3 separate regions of the Homo sapiens genome follow, and all the other regions are linked to region 3. Evidence: promoter capture Hi-C in 16 types of primary human blood cells and fetal thymus (Javierre and others, 2016). All regions are on one chromosome and are shown on one strand. The core of a region is centred on a gene start or on the middle of the fragment in contact, and the rest is flanking DNA. Distances in the headings are between cores, read along the strand shown. Region 1 has its middle 28 kb from the start of LRRC8C-DT. Region 2 has its middle 55 kb from the start of LRRC8B. Region 3 holds the start of GBP4 (guanylate binding protein 4).

Evidence for each region. The method cuts DNA at HindIII sites, captures the fragments that hold promoters and counts their contacts. A CHiCAGO score of 5 or more calls a contact.
Region 1: a contact is called between a fragment that was not itself captured here and the fragment with the promoter of GBP4 in region 3, in 1 of 17 cell types (activated CD4 T cells). The highest score is 7.1, in activated CD4 T cells.
Region 2: a contact is called between a fragment that was not itself captured here and the fragment with the promoter of GBP4 in region 3, in 1 of 17 cell types (activated CD4 T cells). The highest score is 6.9, in activated CD4 T cells.

The regions. Positions count from the first base shown.
Region 1 is chr1:89,603,788-89,606,487 of GRCh38, forward strand. No RefSeq gene overlaps it. Among named protein-coding and RNA genes, the nearest start is that of LRRC8C-DT, 28 kb to the right of the region's middle. The HindIII fragment of the contact is 984 bases long and covers 933-1,916 here.
Region 2 is chr1:89,468,183-89,471,049 of GRCh38, forward strand. No RefSeq gene overlaps it. Among named protein-coding and RNA genes, the nearest start is that of LRRC8B, 55 kb to the right of the region's middle. The HindIII fragment of the contact is 4,080 bases long and covers 1-2,867 here.
Region 3 is chr1:89,197,511-89,200,210 of GRCh38, forward strand. GBP4 (guanylate binding protein 4) reads right to left here and starts at 1,432. Exons shown (of 11, transcript NM_052941.5): 1 at 1,285-1,432. The coding sequence starts at 1,324. LOC107985076 (a long non-coding RNA gene) reads left to right here and starts at 837. Exons shown (of 3, transcript XR_002958332.2): 1 at 837-898; 2 at 993-1,548. RefSeq lists a silencer at 1,236-1,530. The HindIII fragment of the contact is 3,654 bases long and covers 1,266-2,700 here.

The DNA of each region.
Region 1 (2,700 bases), core at 175-2,674, 410 kb after region 3:
AGCTGGCCTTCCAACTCCAATATTCTGATCTACATAAAATGCTGAGTGAGTGGGAAGTGTTGATCATGTTTAATACTGAGTAATTTTCTTAAGAACTTGAGTATGTCATACATTTCTTTTTTCAGCTTTGGAAATGATTCACTTTTATGACACATGAATAAGACTTTTATTCACTAAAGAACCTCAAGCATAATAGCAAGTGAAGGAGGATGGAATTATCTTAAAGGGCTGTTCTGCAGTGCCTCCCCGTCAGGAGAGCCAAGTAGACAGTGAAGAGAAGCTATTTAGGGCAGTACAGTTAGAAACATTCCCAGCAGGGCCTTCACAATGCTCAGGTTACAATTCCCAGTTAAGAGAAATGTCCTGAGGTTGCACAGGTATAAAGGTGACCTGTGAGGTACTTGGCTGTCTTGGGCTTTAACACCAAAATTTGAAAGCTGAGGCTGACCCTTTATCACTGGCTTTCCTCCCAGAGTCTGACCTAGGGCAAATAGATGCCTGACAGTTTTAAGTTCTCCAGTTTCTGTTCAGCTGAGACCTGAGTGTCAGGTCAGCTAACAGGCTCCCCGTTGGAGAAACATGACTCTAGGTTTCAGTGCACTGAGAGATGTTAACTTCTGCCTGGTCTTAGGGTACAGCCCCACCTGGGTGCCAGCTCCAAGGGCAGACTATGCGCTCACCAGGTTCATCTGATAATGCAGTGGGCAGACATAGCTATGTGCTGTTCACTTGCTCTGTGCCCTCATGCCCAGTCTAAGACTGTCCAAGGCCCGGCCTAGTCTCTGCTTTATCTGGAAGAAGACAAGAGCATTTTCCTGGACTGACAGCCCAGAAGGTACTCATCTCCAACCTGGATCAGAGCCCTATTTTCACCAGTAACTCTTGAGTCATCTTGTACCTCTGAGCCTCAGCTTCCTCGTCTGTAAAATGTAAGCTTTATTTTATAAATATTGAGTGTCTGCTACTTACCCAGATGCTGCCTAAGGTATTGTGAATACAGTGGGGGACAGCAGGGACAAATAAGACCCACTCCTCATAGAAACAAACCTCATAAGATCTTAAGAGGATTCCACGAGATAATATGTGTAAAATGTTAGCATCTTGTCTGACCCTAGTGGTTGCTTTCTACGTTAGCTTTAATGAGTTTTCCTCCAAAGATGATAGAAAATATTTCAAAGTATGTCCTTTCCTGCCTTGGTCTGTGCACATGCATTTCTGCCAAAAAGGCTCTTCCTTAATTCCTATGCCTAGCTAACTCCTGTTCATCCAGTTCTCAGTATAAATGGTCACTTCTTCAAGGTGGCATTTTTCTGACCAGTCCATCCTTAGATCCCCCTGTTGTTTGTTCCCAGGGCAACTGGTACTATACTTTGAGGTATCCATCCTCTTGATAACTATGACTTATTTAGTGTCTGTTTCCCTGACTAGACTGTAAAGCTAGTGTAAACAGCATCCATGTTCACCAGAAATCTTGATGCTGAGCTTTGAGATTCTGCATAAACATCTGACCATCTTGCTGATATTTGAAGGGAATGTTCCCTTTCACATGAGAAAATTACATTGGACCAGAAAAGAAGAATCTGGCCCACCAGGAGCACATGGGTCCTTTCTTCCCTCTTTTCTCTCTCCTACCATGAAGAGGAGGGACGGCCAAGAAATGGCTGAAGAAAGGCCATTCCCAGGGCTGTACCCACATCTCTTAGAAGTAGCAGGTAGTCAGGGAACATAGGATGGAGAGTTGGGTTCCCCATTGTTCACAGGAACTTACCCAGTACCCATTCAAGGACCTACTGGGAATGGGGCAGTAAGGGTCTTCTTTGATACCATCTGCCACAGCCACACCCTTGTCCGTTCTCACCACAGCCAGGCAGCATGACTTAAAGGAGGTCTTGTTTCTTGTAACTATAGATAGTAGAAGCTTGATAAAATGAAATCTAAGGTCATAAGACTGGAATGGTGTCAGCCGCAGAAACGTCTCTGTCACCTTGTGTGAAAGATGCCCCCAGCCTCAGTACCTTTTGGAAGAGACCTTGGCAAAAATACAGCTGTTTACATGTGACTCACCAGAAATGTGAATGTTCTTGCCCTTTTGTGCCCTGTGGGATTTAACAAAGCAGCAATGTGACCTGACCCCAGTGGTTTTCTTTTGGCCAGAATCCAAGTCCTCCAGGCAGTGCTGGACTTCCCACATGCATTCCTGCCAGCCCACTATATGGAACTACAGGGCAGTCCTCTCTGCCAAGCCTTTCTAACCTCTATGTCTTTGTCCAGGCTGTTCCCTCAACCAGAAGTTCCTTTTTTCCATACATACACATATGAATAAACCTCAATTCATTCTTCAAGACTAAGATGATATCACTCTATAACTCCTCTAATCACCCTCTTTCCCCAAATTGGAGTTAGTTATTCTGAACCCTTATACCAATGTAGTGAGGTTATGGATTTCCCGCTCAGTCATCTGAAGGCAGAAACCAAATCTCGTTCATATTTGTGTCCCCTTCCACTAATATAGTATCTGCACCTATAATTTGTTACAGTATTCTACACTGTAGGTGCATAATGAATAAATAGCTGAAAGCTGGGCATTTGCAAGGTGTGTGCTGGCCAGTGGGTCAGCCAGGATGCCTAAGGGCAAAGGCACATGCCAGAAACCACTAATGGAGACTTTTGTGGACAAATTGTTGAAACAGTGAGAAGTTG
Region 2 (2,867 bases), core at 88-2,587, 270 kb after region 3:
CATTTCAACTTATTCAAGGTAATAGGAATGATTTAAATTCATATACATCCCCAAAGTTGCTTTTTCCTGATGAAGCCCTTGCCATGCACACATCCTGAAGTTGGAAGACAAAAGTTTAAGTCCTACTTCCACCATGCACTAGCTGAATGGTTAAACTCTGAGCATGCTTCCTTACTGATTGTATGAGTATAATGGTGATACCTAAAAGGTTTATTTTTTTATCAAATTCTGAAATGACTAATAAAACATTTTATGAATTATAAATATAAATTAGGACTGAATACTAATAAATGACAAAACAGACACGTTTGTTTCAAGTTCTAAAAGAAGTTATTGACATTAAAAAACAAAGAGAATACTCACATTGTACATTTCTCTGTGTTCTGTTACCATATTGAGAAAGCAAAGAAGAATATTTAGAACACTCAGTAAATGAAAGGCATGGTTTAACCTGGAATAACTGAATCTGTGAAATAATGAGGAGCTTCAAAAATTGTCTCCAGATTATTTCTCATGCTGACTCTAGCTGGAATATGTTAGTACAGTTTAGCAAAAAAAATTATGAATGCCCTGCCACATGAAGTTGACAGATAATGTTGTGTGTTAGAGAAACTATAAAGATGAATAAGGTAAAATTTCTGTCTTCAAGAGCAAAGAGTAATGAAGGTCTTAGTTATGCATTATCAGCTGGGATAGTTGGCTCCAAAATTATTTACCCCTTACCTCTCTCTCATTATCTCCCTCTCTCTTTCTCTCTCTCCCTCTCTCTCGTTATACATCTGCATATATTAAATCTATGCATGTATACATGAACAATTGAATATATGCTCATACATATTCTTAACAGCCTCTAGAATCATTCCTTGCAAAATTACATATTTTTGTCTCATTCCTTCTATTTTAGTAAAGGGCATCATCATCAACCTGGCTGTTTAAACTACAGGGAGCCTAGGAAAATACAAGTTAAAATAACTATTATGTTATAAATGTGCTTGAAATCATAAGGGAAGATAATAATAATAGTTCATAATAATTGAATGCTTATAGACCTTATATTGCCCATCTCATTGCAGCTTCAGAACAATGCTGATGGGGTGGTAACAAACCACCCCAAGCTATATATAATAGGTAACCGAAACACCTAGAAAACTGGTTCCCATACTATATTTCACATTGAGCTACAGGAGCAAAAGCCATGAATGTATAATCACTTGCTCAGTTTTTTAATCAAGTTGAAGCTAAATAACAACATCTTATTGTTTGCAGCTTTGTGGTGACTATAAATCTTTTGTTAATATAATGCCGGTAGTGATTTATTTTTGCTGTTTAAATTCATAAATTGCAGGATTCTAGGCAAACATCGCACTTACCCCTCAAGGGTAATATACCAAATTTTAAAAGGTTATGATAAAAATCCTGAGTCTTTCAAGAGATATGACTGAAAAACTGGGATACCTAAACAAATTATAAATAGAAAATGATTCATCTCGAAGTCTTTTTCAGTTTATTTAGTTTAAAACATCATAAATTAAATTTAGTGAAGCTGGAGAGTTTGAGAAAAAGAATAAGAAAAGACAAACAAAAATCAGAAATTGTTTTACAATAGCTGGAGACAGAGTGAGATTAATTTTTTTATTTTAATTCGTGCCAACCTGGGAAAGAGATGAATAAATGAGCTCCAAAACCTACCTTCATCCACAGAGTGGGCATTCATTTTTACCTTCTCCTCCACTAAAGTTAAACAAGAGCTACTTAGGTGAGCAGTATTTCCCTGGGCTGCATTCCAAATTCCAACCAACCTTCCATGGTCATCTGGTGAAATTAGAAATGGCCAGAATATAGACAAAACCAAAGACTAAGAAAGATTCCTGAATATTAAGAGACATTTTAAATGCACAAAATGTTTACTCCAAAAACCTCTGCAGAAATTCTGGAAATAAAAGCCTTCTGTCTGCCTCATATGTCACTCTATTTATCTTTAGAGCTGATGGTTGACTAGGATGGTTTGAGAGTCCTGTCTCCTCTAAGTCTCATGTATTGCTGCCAGTGCTACGAGGTCAACCCATGAGGACAATATTCCTCTCCAAGCATACATGAGTAACTGCAGTTCCCTAAACTTTTCTTCTCTAAAAAAGGTCTATTTGTATCAGAGTATTCAGGAAATATCTTGAAATTCTATTAAATGACAAGGAACCTCACATTCCAAAAATCTCTAGCTTTTTGACCCTTCCAAATCTATTTATGTATTAATCTAACAAACCTAAGTGATATAACAAATTTAAGAAATAATCAATGTATGCCCTAAGCTCTGAGCTAGAAAACAAATGTTAAAAGTAAAGAAAACATGGACACAGGGAGGGGAAAATTACACACTGGGGCCTGTTGGGGGGTGGGGGTCTAGGGCAGGGATATTATTAGGAGAAATATGTAATGTAGACGACGGATTGTTGGATGCAGCAAACCATCATGGCATGTGTATACCTATGTAACTAACCTGCACATTCTGCACATATATCCCAGAACTTAAGGTATAATAATAAAAAAAAAGAAAAAAATGAGACAATGAACTTTCTAAAAAATAAAGAAAAGCAAAGAAATTTGCCAACTATATAAATCTTTATCTGTAAAATTAATTATTTAGATAAGAATCTCAATCATTACAATCAGCACAAAAAGTGATTTTGCTGAATGGAGTTCTCTGATACAAAATGAAATAATAATATACTATATTTTTCTTAAATTCCAATTTGTTTTATCTTTAGTAGTTAACATAAGCATGTGGTTCAAAATTCAAAAGGTATATAACATAAAAAGTCAAATTTCTAACCTGTCTTCCCTCTATCCAGTTTCTCTGCCTACAGTTGCTT
Region 3 (2,700 bases), core at 182-2,681:
TTTAGTTTAGCATGTCAAAGACTAGTACAGATCTGTTATGTACATTATTTATGATTCTTACAAGAACGCTAAAAATGCCTTGTCAAGGTGATGCATAAAATAAACAGAATTAGAAAATCAAGGCACTGATGGCAGAATAATTCCACTCCTGGAATAAATAGGGGCAGGATGTTACAAAAAGGAGATGAGGAGTGGTTAGAAAAGGCTCCAGGCATTCCAGAAGAATTTGCTCTCTCATTAATTTAATAAAGAGTATTGCGTACCTACCATGTGCTAATTAACACCGTTCTAGATTCTCAGCAACAAGCAAGGAACATAATTGATACAAACTTCTGCCTCTTGGAGCTCTATTTGTTGTAACCCAGCGAGTTACAGAGAAACGCCACACTCTGAGACGAATTCAGGAGTCCTTTATTAGCCGGCGACCGAGAGACGGCTAGTGCTCAAAATTCTCTCGGCCCGAAGAAGGGGCTAGATTTTCTTCTATACTTTGGTTTAGAAAGGAGAGGTTGGGGGGAGGGGTCTAGTTAAAACAATCCTACAGAAGTAAAGTAGGCAAAAAGTTAAAAGGATAAATGGTTACAGGAAAGTAAACAGTACTAGGTGCAGGGGCTTTAATTCTATCACAAGGTGATAGAAGCGGGGCTTTGGGCTTTATCAACCAGACACAAACGCGGGGGGCTCTGGGTGCTGTTAACCGGGCGAATTCCTGGGAACTGCGGGTATGGCTTGCCACAGTACCTTATCAGTTAATTGCATTCTTGGATGTGCTGGGAGTCAGCTTGCACAAGTTAAGTCCCTGAGGAAGCGGGTGGGTAAGGGGCTGCAAGTGAAGGAGCCGAGATGCAGACTGTCTGGCTCTTTCAGCTAAGGGAGAGTCAACTCAGGTTAAAACAAGGTAGGGTATCACATATTCTAGTGGGGGACAGAAAATTAATAAAACAAACAAGCAAAAAATGTGTATATGTATACTAGATGATGGTATTTCGCAGGAGAAAATGCCACAGCTCTGGGAGGAAGCCCGAGGAGGAGCAGCGCATCCTGGAGACACCGGTGCGCCTCTGGTCGCCGCCTGTGGACCGTCTAGAGACGCTGGGCCACACGGAGCAAAGCACTCAGGGGTTCAAGCAGCATCAGACTTCCCCGCGAGGTTCCTCCACTGCCTTTGTCACCCGCCAGTGTGAAGTCTCCAACCCTCCCCGTGTGCAGTCTGCGCTTGGGAATTTGTTGTTGTTTGTTATAACCCAAATATACTTGAAAGGTAAAGCTTAAGAGCAAACTTACCTGGTGTGGGCACTGCAGCGTGAAGAGTTCTCTCACCCATTGCTCTGTCCTCCTGCGCCTGGATCCTCGAGAAACGGACTGTTCTTAGAAGCTGAAAGTCCAGCCGGATTTACAGACATCCAAGTAAGAGTCTGTGAGAACCGAAATTGAAAGGACATGCACTTTGTGGGGAGTTGACTGTTGGGGATTTTCCTGTTTATCAAGACAGGAAACTAAAGGAGCTTGAAAGTGCTGGTTCCTCCACACCAGACTCCTGAAACTCAGGTTTGTTTGTCCCTCTTCCACCCTTAGCTTAGGTATCTTTCGCCTCCAAAATGAATATAGAGCAGCAGACATGAATGTTGTTTCATCTACCTGTCTCTCAGGGGTAATTTTGTCAGGGAAGAAATTTGAGTTTTTGTTTGCTTTTATTTTTTTTTACATGCTTATATGTTTCTGTTTCTCATCTCTTTTCTTTATTTTTTCATTAACCATAAAATATGTGTGTGTTTGTGTGTGTGTCTATGGATATCTATGTATCCTCTAACGTTGTTGCCCAGAGGTGCGGTGGTGGCAAGTAAATACTTCTCTTTCAAAACACAAACATCTCATTGAAACTGGATCTTTTGGAGGACAGGAGGATGATTGGACCATAAAAAGCATAATTTATAATTAGGAGTCTTACCCAGGCTACCAGAAAAATGGACTCAGTTCCTAAAATGACTAGCCAGTTTGTTAACAGAGTTTGGGAAATCTATCTGAAATAAATGGGTAATGATTCCCCATTTGTGCCTATCCCTTAGATCTTCCTATTTGTTTAGTAATGTCTGATTAAACATTTGCAAATTAATAAGTACAAAATTTTAGGCACTTAATCAGGTAAAATTACTGGTGCCGATTTTGATTCAAAACTTAACATTTATTTCCTATAAGCAATATTGAAAGTGAAAATAAAGCTAAGTCAAGTTTTAAATAGGACCAGTAATAAGAAATCAGGTGCTTTTTTCTCTTACCATTTTTTAATGTCAGGAAGTCCCTCTCTCTTAAAAAAAAAAAAAAAGAAGAAGAAGAAAAAGTACAGGGATGACTGAATCCAGGTAAATGTGTTTGAAACACCTGAATTTCACCAGTGGCACCCCTTTCCAGATAATCCAATGTTACTGACTTCAGATAATCATGGAAATGTTAATCAAGAAGAAATTTAGGCTGGGTGTGGTGGCTCACTCCTGCAATCCAACCATTTTGGGAGGCCAAGGTGGGCAGATCACTTGAGTCCAGGAATTGGAAACCAGCCTGGGCAATATGGGGAAACCCCATCTCTACAAATAATAATAATAATAAATTAGCTGGGCATAATGGCATGTGCCTGTTATAATAGTCCTAGTTACCTGGGAGTCTGAGGTGGGAGGATGACCTGAGCCCAGGAGGTCAAGGCTG